4 separate regions of the Homo sapiens genome follow, and all the other regions are linked to region 3. Evidence: promoter capture Hi-C in 16 types of primary human blood cells and fetal thymus (Javierre and others, 2016). All regions are on one chromosome and are shown on one strand. Each heading gives the region's core, a stretch centred on a gene start or on the middle of the fragment in contact. The rest is flanking DNA. Distances are from core to core; before and after follow the strand shown.

Region 1 (2,934 bases), core at 1-2,500, 640 kb before region 3:
GTGAGCGCGCCCACCTGCGCCTCTCCGCGCGGCCCGCCCTCCCCGGCGCCGGGCTCCTCTCCGCGCCCCTGTCGGCGCGGAACCCTGGCCTCGTCCGCGGCCCAGCTCCCTGGAGCCTCGCATCAGCGGGGGCGCCCCCGCGAGCTGCGCTCTCCCCGGCCGGAGCGCTCCTCCTCCAGCCCCCAGCCCGCAGGGTACTTTGCCCTCGGAGCGAAGGAGGCTCCAGAACTGGTAGAGCCGGGCCATCGGGCTGGGCACCTCCCCGCGGCGCCCGCAGCGCGGAGTCCACTGACCGGCTCAAAGGTCTGGGAATCTCGGGGCGGCCGCGAGCCGGCCTCGGGGACTGGGGTGGGGGCGGTGCTGGGAACAGAGGCTAGGCCTGGGCCCAAGGGGAAGGCAGCCGGGGATGGAGCGGACAGACCGCTGGTGCTCTTGATAGATTCTCGCAGCACTTGCGTCCCCAGGGCAGCCCCAGGATGGGTGCTGGGCAGGGTGGTGCCCAGCCTGGCACCGCGGCTTCCTGCCTGGATTGGCTCCTGGCTCCAGAGCTAGAGGCTCAGGAAATCCCACAGGGGTCTGTCTGCAAGGGCACTTCCTTGCCCAGCGGAGGGGCTGTGGATGGGAGGCCTGTCACCCCGGCTGTCTGTCGGGCAGCATCAGGAATCTGGGGGTGGGTGTGTCCAGCTTGACAGATGAACCCTGGCCTCCTTGCCCTGGCAGCCGGCCCCTGGGGGAGGTGGGGAGCCCGGTCTTGCCCGTGTGATCCACTTTGCCAAGAACGAGGTGGGCAGCTAGGAGGCCCATGTGAAGACTCGGCCTCACCCCACCAGTCCTTCACCTGGCCAGTGACTTACACAGTCTGTACTGGTGCCAGCCTGTTCCTTGACCCGTCACTCCTGCTTCCTGAGCCCTGCTCTCCCTAGGCCACTCACCAGCCCTCCCCCAGAGTGGAGAGGAAGTACCGTGTGCTGTGGGTTTTGGGGACAGGAAGCAAGCGCTAGTGGGACTGAGCCCTGATGGTGGAGGAGGGGAGACTGAGGGGGTGCTGGCATCCCCTCCACTTGCCAGCCCCTGCCCCCCATGCTCCAGCAAGCCCCCTGCCTGGCAGCCTGGGCAGCCCCCTCCTGGGAGTCGCTCCCTGGGCTGAAGACTAAGGAAGGGAGAACCCAGAAGCATGGCTTCCCAGGGTGGGGGGAAGTGAAACCGGGCTGAGGGAGGGAGTTAGCCACTTCCTCTACCCACCCCAAAGCCCCTGAGTAGCTGCTCCGGGAGCTGTGGTGCCCTCTCCTTCTCCCTTTGGCTCCTCTCCTGCTGCCTTACAGTGCCCCCAGAGCCGGCTAGGGGCATGGACTTCACCTCCTGGTCCTCTCTTCCTCAGGTATGGCGTTGACGGTGGATGTGGCCGGGCCAGCGCCCTGGGGCTTCCGTATCACAGGGGGCAGGGATTTCCACACGCCCATCATGGTGACTAAGGTAAGGATGGTGGCTCAAAGAGATGAGAAGGTCCTGCCAGAAGCGAGGTCGGCCCTGTTCACCCCACTCTGCACAGATGGCTTGCTTTTTCTGTTCTGGAGCTAGGGATCTGCTGCTGCCTGGCGTGCTGGCTGTAAGGGAGCCGTGGCCCTTTGCCACGGGGATGTGGTGGCCACTTCAGGAACAGACCTTGGGAGTGAAAGGGAGCTGGGACCAGGACAGGGCCGGCTCTTGCCTCCCCAGTTGCTATCCCCACACTTGCAGGCAGCCATTTGGGGTGATTACTAGAACAAGAGCCCCGGAGTTCTTGGCAGTCTCCTCTTGACCTGGGCCCAGGCTGGGAACATTCACAGGAGGGCTGTGCAGGCAGCCACCTGCAAGGTGCGATTTGCACGGGCAAGGCTCTCTATCCAAAAGTATTTCCAAGCACAGTTCCTGAAATTCTGCCACTGCACATTCTTTGGGAGGCCCATTAGAATGCCAGTGTGGGGTGGGGGCTGCCACCTGCGCTCCTGGAGGGGATGGCTGATCAGCTGGGTGTCATGAGCAGGCAGAGGGACATGCAGGAGGGTGCAGGCCGGCCTGGGTCAAGCCAGCCTCTGTGTTTCTTGGGTAGCAGAGTGGGAAGTCCCTTCTCCAGCTGGGCCACGGTCTGAGCATGCCAGCTCCTCATCCCTACAGGTGGCCGAGCGGGGCAAAGCCAAGGACGCTGACCTCCGGCCTGGAGACATAATCGTGGCCATCAACGGGGAAAGCGCGGAGGGCATGCTGCATGCCGAGGCCCAGAGCAAGATCCGCCAGAGCCCCTCGCCCCTGCGGCTGCAGCTGGACCGGTAGGGCCTCCCGCTCTGCAGAGCCTGTGGCATTCCCCCTCCTCCACCACCCCACGTATTGAGCAGCCCTTGCTCCTGCCCATGGGCTAGAGCTCAGCCCTAAAGCGGCCTTCTTGGGCCCTCTCCACACCTTGGTGAGAAGGTCCTGGGCTCTGCTTCCTGCAGCAGGGTGGGCTGAGGGGTGTTCCCATGCCTGGTTGGGTAAAGGTGGGCGCCAGGCTGGGCGTGCAGTCACAGGCTGGGCAGGGCGAGCTGGCACCAGCCACCTTGAAGCCCGGGTTTGACTGGTTCCCAAGAGTGTGCAGGGCACAGGGCGTGGGCATGAAGTGGGTTGAAGAGGGGAACCTTCTGGGAAAGGTATGCCCGAGGCTGCATCCCCAGGACTCCTGCTTCCAACAGGGCATGGCCTTTGTTTAGTTCCCAGCTGGAAGTGAGGACTTGGGGGGCTCATTCCTCATAGAGGCTGTCTGTTCCTCCCCATCACTGAAGGCAGATGCCCGATCCTGGGTTACTCCTAGGGTTTTGAGCCTATAAGCCAAGGTGGGGCCAGGGTGGGGCCTGGAGGCCAAGCTATAGGGGGAACAGGTGGCTCCCTGGGGTGGGGCATTGCAGTGAGTCACAGATCGGG
Region 2 (2,996 bases), core at 121-2,620, 620 kb before region 3:
CTCCACATTGCCAGGAAAAGCTGCTGACGCCTGCCCTCCTCTCTTGAGTCGAGGGCTGAATCTTTCTCCTCTAAGCAGTCTGGTCAGGAACCTTGGTTTCTTGAGAGGCCCCCAAGATGCCGCAGCTCCAGGGCTCTTCCTCCTCACCAGAAATCCCTGGGCTTCCACAATGTGAACTCACTCATTGTCAGGTGTCCGTGGAGTGTTTTTGGCATGGTGACCTGTCTGGGCCCAGCATGTTGCAGATGTGTATTTATGCGCAATGGTATGCATATCTCTGTGTGACTGTCAGTGTTGCAAGCTGGCTGGATCCAACCATCTCTTCTGAAATAATGCATCCAAAGGGTTGATATTCTGGGGGAGGTCACTGCAGAAGGATGGAACTGACCTTTATTCCCCAGTGGGCAGTTACTGAGCTTTCCTCCTCAGAGCCATGCTGGCAGCCCTGGGACAGAGAACGGTGTGGCTTTGGCTGCCTCTGCATGGAATCTTGCCCCGGACTCCTGAAGACTGCACAAGGAATGAGGAAGATCAGGGACAACCTGGGAACTGAATAACTTTCAAAGCCAGTGCTCAGCTTCTCTGCTCCGTACTAGCGTTTACAGGTCTTAATTCAAACCAGATGCCTGTACTAGTTTTTAGACCCCAAGTCAACCTTTCTGAGCCACAGCTTCCCGCTGGGAATAATGATGCCTGCCCTATCTACCTCACAGACTTGTTATGAGGATAAAGTGAGATTAAACTGCCTCAAAGTGCTTTGTAAACCTCAGGTGAATAGGAAAGGGGAAAGTAAGGCTGGAGTGATGATGGGGAGGTCGGAGGATAAGGGGGGGCTGGGATTGCTAATGGGGACTAAAATGGCCAGTCTCCTGGCAAGATTTTGAGCAGGTCATTTCATTGAGGCCTCTTAGATTTCATATTTGAGAATTAGGGCACTGATTCCTGACTGGCTAGGCATGGTGGTCACTGGCTTGAGTCAGACCAGGAATGTCTCTTAGAAATGGTCACTGATAGGCATCCTTCTCCTCCAGTCAGGAGGGGCTGGTTTCCTTATCTGTTGCAGTCTCGACTGCCAGAGGGAGGCGAGCGTGGTAGGCAGTCGGGGGTCCCTTGTGTTTGGGGGGCCCAGCTCCCGCTTCCTTTGAGCCCGGAACCAATGATCCGAAGCCTTCTTTCCTGATGGGATTCTTTAGCGAGGACACTACCGAGGCGCGACTTCCTGACGCGCATCCGATCCGGGAAGGCGCACTTCCGCTCCCCAGTTGCCGCGGGATGGCAAGCCGGCGTGGGGGAAGGGAGAGGTCGGCGGAGACGAGGGAGGGACCATATCCGGGAGAGCGGCAGCTTCCGACCAGTGGTCGCGCTTCCGGAGAGGCGCTTCCGGTGGCGGCGGCAGCAGCGGCTGTGGTGGTTCCGGGTGTCTTTGTCCCCCCGGTGTCGCTGCCCTGGCCCGCAGGTGGGTTGGGGGGCCCCCTGCCGCCCCTCTGCCCCTTCGCCCCTCCGCCCCTCCGCTGGCCGAGGGGCTGCGAGGGCCGGGCGGCGAAGATGCGTGGGGCGCGGAAGGGGCCGAGCCCCTCTTTGGACTGCAAGTCCCGTCTCCCTGGCAACGGCCTCGGCCTTGGGGGCGGGCGGGAGGAGGAGAAACCGCGCGCCTCAGTCCTCCCTTGGTGGCCTCGCCGCGGCTCTGCTGGGAGACCCGGCGCTGGCGGCTGCTGAGGCCGGAGCGGAGGGCCCGGGAGCGTGGGAGCAGGAGGGTGGCGCGCAGCCGGTTTCGCGTTTGGTCGGCCAGGGAGCTGCCTTCCCACCAGCCGGTCGAGGAAACAACGGGTCGGGCTTCCGGGGAGAGGGCCCACACAGTCTCCTCGCCGGCACCGGCCTCCTCCATTTTTCCGGGCCTTGCGTGGAGGGTTTTGGCGGATGTTTTTGAACGAAGGAATGTCATCGGGGCTCTCTCGAGCCCCTCACCCCGCCAGCTACTCTGGGGGTGGCGTGGCATAGTGAGAGGAGCGCTAAGTTGTTGGGAGGCCTGGGTGTGAGTAGCAGTTTTGTCACTACCTGGTTATGTGGCCCCGGGCAAGTCTCTTGATCTCTCTGAGCATCAGTTTCCTTGTCTGTAAAACAGCATGACAGTATCATGCACCACTAGGTTATTGTCAGGGCAAACTGGAACAATGTAATTTCTTGTTTCATTTCTTTCTTCTCTATATTCTCTCCATCCATTGCTTTCATTCATTCTTATTACCCACCTCCCTGTTTTCCGAAATATCCTTACTTAAGATTCTCCACTTTTCCGGGTATAGATGGAAATTTCCCTTATAAGCTGTTAATTTCTTTCTTTTTGGATTGAAGCCTTTTCCCCACGACTCTGAAAGAGGACAGCGTTCCCAATGTCCCAGTTTAAGCGCCAGCGGATCAACCCGCTTCCAGGGGGACGCAACTTCTCAGGTGATCACTGTTCTCCCTACCTGGCCTCATCCTGGGAAGTATGTGCTCTGGAGTTAGTTTGGGGTTTCCCTGGTGGAGAGCAATTTGCTGCTGATGTTCCTCTGGAAAGCAGGAGATGCCCACAGTGATTGCCAGTGAAGCTCTGTGGAGGAGCTGGCTGGAGCTGTAGCCTTTGGATTTACCACATCCTTTGGTTGACTCGTGCTTAAGGTGGTAGGGGCGGTTCCTGGAGATTGCTTCTCTTTCCCCATAGGCACAGCTTCAACATCTCTTCTGGGCCCTCCTCCTGGTTTGCTCACTCCTCCTGTGGCCACAGAACTGTCCCAGAATGCCAGGCACCTTCAGGTAGGTTCGGCATCCCTTGTAGTAAGTTTCAGCCCTTGGGACTGAATGCATGGAGGCCTGGTGCTCTTTTTCTCTTACATAATAGTGTTTATCATTCCTGATCCCTCTCCTGGTAGTGGGCTAGTATGGGGTTGCCCAGATAGCCTTCAGACTGGGGCATCTTCATTTCTCGCTCCAGGGAAATCTTTAGCTTACGTCTTGGAATT
Region 3 (3,096 bases), core at 539-3,038:
CTCGGCCTCCCAGAGTGCTGGGATTACAGGCGTGAGCCACCGCGCCTGGCCTCAAGTATTCTTTTATAGCCACACCAACGGACTGTGACATTTCCAAAACCACCAAATTCAGATGTTTCACCTTGTCTATACAGGTGAGCCCTACATCCACCTGGAATCGCACTAGCCTGTCAAAAAGAAAGCCATTTAATAAGCGTATTAAAAATAAGAGTCAAACGTGGGTTCCACCTAACATAAACTGACGTTTAAAACATAAATTCTGTAATTATTTGGAGATTTCAAAATGCTATTGGATTCCTGGATTTTGTTTAGTTTGTTAAACAAAAACACGTAAAATTTCCTGACACTTGTAAGACTGGTTTATCCTTCAGGTACTTAGCTTTCGTTTTGTTTTTCCTTAACATAGAAGGAATCTGGATGAGAACAATTGGTAGAGCCTTAATGAACTTGAAAGAGAACTGAAGGCATTGGCATTTTTCCAGACTGAGTGATTGCTTTCACAGGAAACGCTGCCTCCTGAAGGAAGGGCGTGCCCCGCTCCTGGCTGCCTGCCTCGTGGTGGTCAATTCGCTGCCCTGTACCTGTTGATGCGCAAGAAAGTGGCTGGAAGGAAACTGCTGCCGGTGTGCTCAGTGGACTCGAAACGGAAGACAACGAGCAGAGGAGAGAAAGTTACTTTTTCCTGCCGGGCTGCGTGTTTAACCAATTTGTCTAAGAAAAGAAGGATGGAGGGCCGGGCGCGGTGGCTCACGCCTGTAATCCCAGCACTTTGGGAGGCCGAGGCGGGCGGATTTGGCTAACACAGTGAAACCCCGTGACTACTAAAAATACAAAAAATTAGCCGGGCGTGGTGGCAGGAGCCTGTACTCCCAGCTACTCGGGAGGCTGAGGCAGGAGAATCGCTTGAACCAGGAAGGCGGAGCTTGCAGTGAGCCGAGATCGCGCCACTACACTCCAGCCTGGGCGACAGAGAGAGACTCCGTTTCAAAAAAAAAAAAAAAAAAAAAAAGAAGAGAAGAAAAGAAGGACGGGGGTGGGGAGGGAATCAGGGAGTGGGGAGAATGGCGCTCCCCTTCACGCAGCTGGTGTGGCTGGGAGTTGGCTTGGAAGTTTACACACTTGAGCTCTATCGATTCCGAAACTTCCCGATACATCGTGAGGTGTGGGCAGGAGGGAGACGCGCCAGGCAGCAGCCAACGGGGTGGAGTCCCCGGGCCCAGCCTCCTGCGGGAGGGGGCTCTGCTGCCTCCAGGCCCGGGTCGCTCCTGCCTGGCCCCGGGGACCCCGTTCTTCCTCCGACTCCGACGACGGGCTCCTCCTGCCCGGACATGCCCCGCCACAAGTGACCCGGGCCAGGCACCCCCGCCGCGTCCCCCTCTCTCTCTGCCCCCTCCCGGTGCCAGGCGCGCTTTTCCCCAGGCAGGACCGCGGTGGGGACTCACCTGCAGCAGGACCCCGACGACGACAAACTTGAAGGTCTTGTGGACCCGGAGCCGAGGGCTGGCTTCCCGCGCCGGCCTGGGTCCTGGGGCGCGCCCTGCCCGGGCCCGGGCACTGGGTCCGTGCTGTCCCATGGAGGTAGGGAGCGCTCCTCGGCCCCCGCCTCGTGGTTCAATCCTCCCCGCGGAAGAGCCCCACACTTTGCTGGGTGTGGCCGCGGCTGCCTCTGTCCCACTCGCTGCGCTCCCGGGATTCGGAGTCACTGCCAGGAACGCACCTAGATGTACTCTAGCTGGTGGTGGCGCCATCCTGCCAGGTCAATCCAAGAAGCAGCGTGCTTGGCTATGACAAGACAGAACTTCGCATTCGGAGTTCAGGGCACCCCTGACCCCGCCCCCTTTTCGGGGCACCTGCGGCTCCTGTTGGCTAACCCTGAACTTCCTTCCTCTGTGACCGCCCTTGCCGCTCTCAGCTTCTGTTCCTCAACCACGGCCGCCGCGTGGATGCCGCTGCATTCGGAGTCGTTTTGCCACTTGGTCCCAGCGCCAGGCTTCTCGGTCGGGAGTTGACCTCAGCCTTTCTGTGACCCAGTTCCTGGCACCCAGCAGGCGCTCGGTGGACGGATGGGTGGCGGAATGAAGGACACAGAGGCCACTGCGGGGTCTGGCCTCTAAGAGGCTTTTACGGCCTCCTCCGTCACTACCGGGCGAGTGATTCAGCCTGCCTTTTTTTTTTTTTTTTTTTTTTGAGATGGAGTCAAGCTCTGTCGCCCAGGCTGGAGTGCAGTGGCACGATCTCGGCTCACTGCAACCTCCGCCTCCCAGGTTCAAGCGATTTTCCTGCCTCAGCCTCCTGAGTAACTGGGATTACAGGTGCCCGCCACCACGTCCGGCTAATTTTTTTTCTATTTTTAGTAGAGACGGGGGTTTCACTGTTTTGGCCAGGCTGGTCTCGAGCTCCTGATCTCGTGATCCGCCCGCTTCGGCCTTACAAAGTGCTGGGATTACAAGCGTGAGCCACCGTGCCCGGCTCATCCTGCTTTTGGTTTCAGGTCTCCATGCCAGTGAAATGTCACCTCAACTCCACCGTCCCTGGTGTCAGGCAAGCCCGAGGGACCCAATTCTGCCTTTCTTCTGGATTTTCCTAACCTGTTAAGAGTCTTGAAAGTCCTTAAACCACGGGAGACTATCTGGCACATGACACGGGATGAGACTTGGTGGGGGTCCCACGGGGGACAGGTCCTTCCAGCGGTTCCTCTGCACCCAGCGCTGCACGGGCATGGGGCGTGGGTAATCAGCCTCCCGAAAGCCACGCGAGTCACGGTCCTGCCTGCGAAGAACTCCCAGGGCGACCTTGGGGCTGAGGAGTGGGTAAGAGAAAGGGGGCGCTGATTGATGTTCATTTTTCTCCATATTTTAATGGTGTTCCGGTACCATTTGTTGAAAAGACTCTTTTCGACCGGGCGCGGTGGCTCACGCCTGTAATCCCAGCACTTTGGGAGGCCGAGGCGGGCGGATCACCTGAGGTCAGGAGTTCGAGACCAGCCTGACCGACATGGAGAAACGCAGCCTCTACTAAAAATACAAAATTAGCGGGGCGTGGTGGCGGATGCCTGTAATCCCAGCCACTCGGGAGACTGAGGCAGGAGAATCGCTT
Region 4 (3,200 bases), core at 16-2,515, 560 kb before region 3:
AAGTATCCCTGACACTGACTGATATCAGCTGCTTGCGTTCTCCACTGATGGCCAAAATTAAGCTTCAAAAGCCTTCCTGAAGGACATTCTGTTATCTTAATTCATTCATAACTGGTTATCATGCGCTTTGCATAAACAAACACACTAGCCTCTGAGGACAGAGTGGCAAATATGTTCCCTATGTCCATGGGCTGATTAATCTTGTACATCTCTGGGGCTCAATTTATTCACACACTATAGTTGAATCCCCTGAGGTCCAGGGTTGTGGCTATATAGGTCCTTGGGCCTGACGGTAAGGTAAGGTGCTGCATATGAGTATTCTCTAACCTCTAAGAAAGCCCCAGGAAGGCAGGCAAGTCACAATTCTCTCCTGTGAACATAAATAATCGAGAGCAACAAATGGGGATTGCCTTTTGGGCAAACTGAGTCTTACAAAATAAATACACCATTATGAAGTGTCTACTATGACCCAAGTATCACATCATACTGCAGCAACTGGAATTGTGACTCTATTACTCTAAGACTCCCTGGCTTCTTTTCTCATGGCATGATAGTTCCCATAAGTTTAAACTTAACCATGCCTATTTAGAGGGCAGGCAGTGAGTAATAGCTCTGGAATGATTAAAACCAGTCCAATCCCACAGTGGAAGGGTGTGTGCGGAGTGTAATTCTGGCCCCTTTAAAAAGAGAAGCAAGTTTTCCTTGTCTTTTGAAGCCTGCTAAGTCGTGCAAAGAGGATAGTTACCCAGAAGGGAGTGGGTTTTGATTAGTGAACTGGGTCCAGGCTGCCACAGCGAGGGCCACAGCTCTGGAGGGACTGGCGCGGGGCAGAGATGCCCACAGGAGAGAAAGACGACACTGACTCCACCTCAATGGGTGTTTAAAAAAGGAGGGAACAAGGAAGTCCCTCACTTCAAGGAGCTAGGAGGACGCGAGTCCGGCAAAACGGGTCAGACGCGGAGTCCCAGGCTAAGAGGATCATCCGCCACTCTCCCCGGGAGTCCTGCTGAGAGACTGCGACTCCGGAAAGCACCGAGGGAACGACCCTAGGGCAGGGGCTGTCGGGCCTTGCTCTGGGGCGGAGGGGTCGCGCGGGACCGGAGGGAGCCGGGACGCGGCACTGACACAGGGCCAGGGGCCTCGCGGGTCCGCGGGTCCAGCAGCTCCCGCCGCCTGGGCCTCACTCACCAGCTCATGGTCCCGAACCTGCGTCTGCCGCCGGGGTCCTCAGCCACAACTCGTTTCTCTAGGGTCACTTCCGGATTCAACCAGTCTCCAGGAAGTGACGTAAGCCCGCCTCTCTGCCCGGAAGAGGCGGTTGGGAGGCGGAGCCCGGCGCGTTAACCCTTCTGCTGCTGCGTGCTCGCCGCGGAGTTTCCCTTGCCGGCGACTCTCTGGCTCTGGCCAAGCGCTTAGACACACAGGCTGCAACGGGGGATGAGGGGAACCTCTGGGGGCGTTTTCTGCCTTCAACACTGACTCCTAAAGATCTCTTCACCTGACCATGCAGGGCCCTTAGCCGGGCTGTCCCCTCTGTCAAGTGGTTTCTAATCCAGAGACAGTGGCAGCAATTGTCTGTGGGAGAAGAAGCCATTTGGGATGGAGAAAGTGGAAAACTTACATTCTCTGAATGCTCTTTCCTATCTTTTACAGTTTGTACACCACACATGCATTACCTGTTACAAACAAACGGACGTTTCCCTTCCAAGATGGCACAGGGCTCTGAATATCAATAGATAGGTGCTTTTCAGGTTGGAATGTTTCCTAGAGTTATTCAACACAATAAGACGCAGAGTATGAGTTGTTCCCTGCCTTTCAGCCCTTCCCTTTGGTCTCCTCTACAGGACTCAAATGATGTAAATTGCCCCATTCGTTCTATTCCTTCATTTAACTAATACTAGTTGCACTAATATTAGTGTCAGGTACCGAGCCAACCTTAGGATACAGCTATCTCAGAGAAGTATCTGCCCTGCTCTTGTTCCTTCCCAGAGCTACTTTCCTGGAGGGAGAGACAAGCAGGCAATTATAATCATGCTATAGGATAGGATAGAATGAGGTGTGGTGGCAGCCTAGAAGGGGACCCTGAAGTAGCACATGGGGTTTTGGGGAAGGCTTCCAGGAGGAGCCAGTGTGTAAGCCAAGCCCTGAAGGCAGAATCGGGGCTAGCCAGGTGAATCTGAGATGAGGGGTGACGAGGCTCCAGGCAGAGGGAACTTACCATGGCTAAGACACAGACAGGACCAAGCAAGCAGCTGACTTGCCTCGGGTCTCCCAAAGTCAGAATTCAGGGCCTTAGTGGCTCACAAGTTGCCTGGGATTCTGGGCCGACTTGGTTTCCTCACCGCTAAGTACCTCCCTGCCTTGGAAGAGAGACAAGAAGGCAGTGAGGCCCGTGCAGGTGCTGCTGGGCCCCCAGTGACCTTCTCTCTAGGAATTCTCCTTCCTCAGATGGACCGGGATTGTTTCAGGGACTGCTTAGGGGGTTGCTAATCAATGACCTAGCGGGAAAAATATGACCAATGACCTAGAGCAGAAGTAGTGTATGATTTGTTTTGACCTCCTAGGGTGGAGTAGAGGGCTTGAGCAGGAGAGGTAGGAGGGTGGGCCACAGGATGCAGTCTCTCATTTGTGTTTTCTGTTTCCATTCTTGAGAGTCCATAGTTTGACTCAATTGACGTTTCCAATGGAGGTTGGATCCCCAAGCACATCATGCAGATCAGCTTCATTACCATGTTGTTCCTCAGGAAACAGGCCAAAATGAGCACAAGAGCAGCCTTGAAGAGTAAAGAGGAAGAGCAGAAGTCACCAAAGGGTAGCCTGGGCAGAGAGTGTGGGTAAAGGGAAAGAGAGAGTCCTTGCTGCTTTGCAGAGAGTGTGACGGATGGAAGGGCTGTTGTGGGTTTAGGAGCCTCCTGGCAGTTAGCACCTGTGAATAGTTTTCCCACCTGCTTCCTCCCTTCCCCATGTTCTGCCTCCCTCAGTTATGCCCCACAGGGATAAATATTTCCAAACGTTTTAGCCTAGGTAACTGCTATATCCTAGTAGAAGTCTGTTTCAGGGCTGGAGGGCAGCAGACACATCCTAGAGGACTAGAATGGATAAGTTCTGGACTACAAGTCTGGAGGAGTCTGCGGCTCTATTTCCAGTTCAACCTTTGACACTATAACTGACCTCAGATAAGTCACATCCCCTTTGTGGCC

Evidence for each region. The method cuts DNA at HindIII sites, captures the fragments that hold promoters and counts their contacts. A CHiCAGO score of 5 or more calls a contact.
Region 1: the fragment with the promoter of PDLIM2 here is called in contact with the fragment with the promoter of TNFRSF10A in region 3 in 1 of 17 cell types (naive CD4 T cells); the score reaches 5.8 in naive CD4 T cells.
Region 2: a contact is called between the fragment with the promoter of CCAR2 here and the fragment with the promoter of TNFRSF10A in region 3, in 2 of 17 cell types (non-activated CD4 T cells and total CD8 T cells). The highest score is 5.5, in non-activated CD4 T cells.
Region 4: the fragment with the promoter of BIN3 here is called in contact with the fragment with the promoter of TNFRSF10A in region 3 in 6 of 17 cell types (fetal thymus, naive CD8 T cells, total B cells and 3 more); the score reaches 9.7 in fetal thymus.

What each region holds. Positions count from the first base shown.
Region 1 is chr8:22,579,225-22,582,158 of GRCh38, forward strand. PDLIM2 (PDZ and LIM domain 2) reads left to right here and starts at 1,251. Exons shown (of 9, transcript NM_001368120.1): 1 at 1,251-1,473; 2 at 2,155-2,306. The coding sequence starts at 1,381. RefSeq lists silencers at 38-107, 208-297, 308-467, 1,198-1,287, 2,852-2,934 and an enhancer at 2,485-2,934. The HindIII fragment of the contact is 20,077 bases long and covers 1-2,934 here.
Region 2 is chr8:22,603,387-22,606,382 of GRCh38, forward strand. It overlaps CCAR2 (cell cycle and apoptosis regulator 2), which reads left to right and starts at 1,371. Exons shown (of 21, transcript NM_001393997.1): 1 at 1,371-1,456; 2 at 2,350-2,445; 3 at 2,699-2,790. The coding sequence starts at 2,388. It overlaps C8orf58 (chromosome 8 open reading frame 58), which reads left to right. Exons shown (of 7, transcript NM_001013842.3): 7 at 1-756. LOC107986876 (a long non-coding RNA gene) reads right to left here and starts at 1,614. Exons shown (of 1, transcript NR_160769.1): 1 at 1-1,614. RefSeq lists enhancers at 1,089-1,198, 1,205-1,705 and silencers at 1,369-1,668, 1,729-1,788. The HindIII fragment of the contact is 4,257 bases long and covers 1-2,996 here.
Region 3 is chr8:23,223,314-23,226,409 of GRCh38, forward strand. It overlaps TNFRSF10A (TNF receptor superfamily member 10a), which reads right to left and starts at 1,789. Exons shown (of 10, transcript NM_003844.4): 1 at 1,443-1,789. The coding sequence starts at 1,748. TNFRSF10A-DT (TNFRSF10A divergent transcript) reads left to right here and starts at 1,908. Exons shown (of 3, transcript NR_033928.1): 1 at 1,908-2,810. RefSeq lists promoters at 1,281-2,317, 1,746-3,096, 1,746-2,399, a cis regulatory region at 1,281-1,360, silencers at 1,382-1,631, 1,799-1,990 and an enhancer at 2,042-2,181. The HindIII fragment of the contact is 5,488 bases long and covers 1-3,096 here.
Region 4 is chr8:22,667,856-22,671,055 of GRCh38, forward strand. BIN3 (bridging integrator 3) reads right to left here and starts at 1,266. Exons shown (of 9, transcript NM_018688.6): 1 at 1,189-1,266. The coding sequence starts at 1,196. RefSeq lists a silencer at 966-1,125 and enhancers at 989-1,618, 1,376-1,435. The HindIII fragment of the contact is 6,679 bases long and covers 61-3,200 here.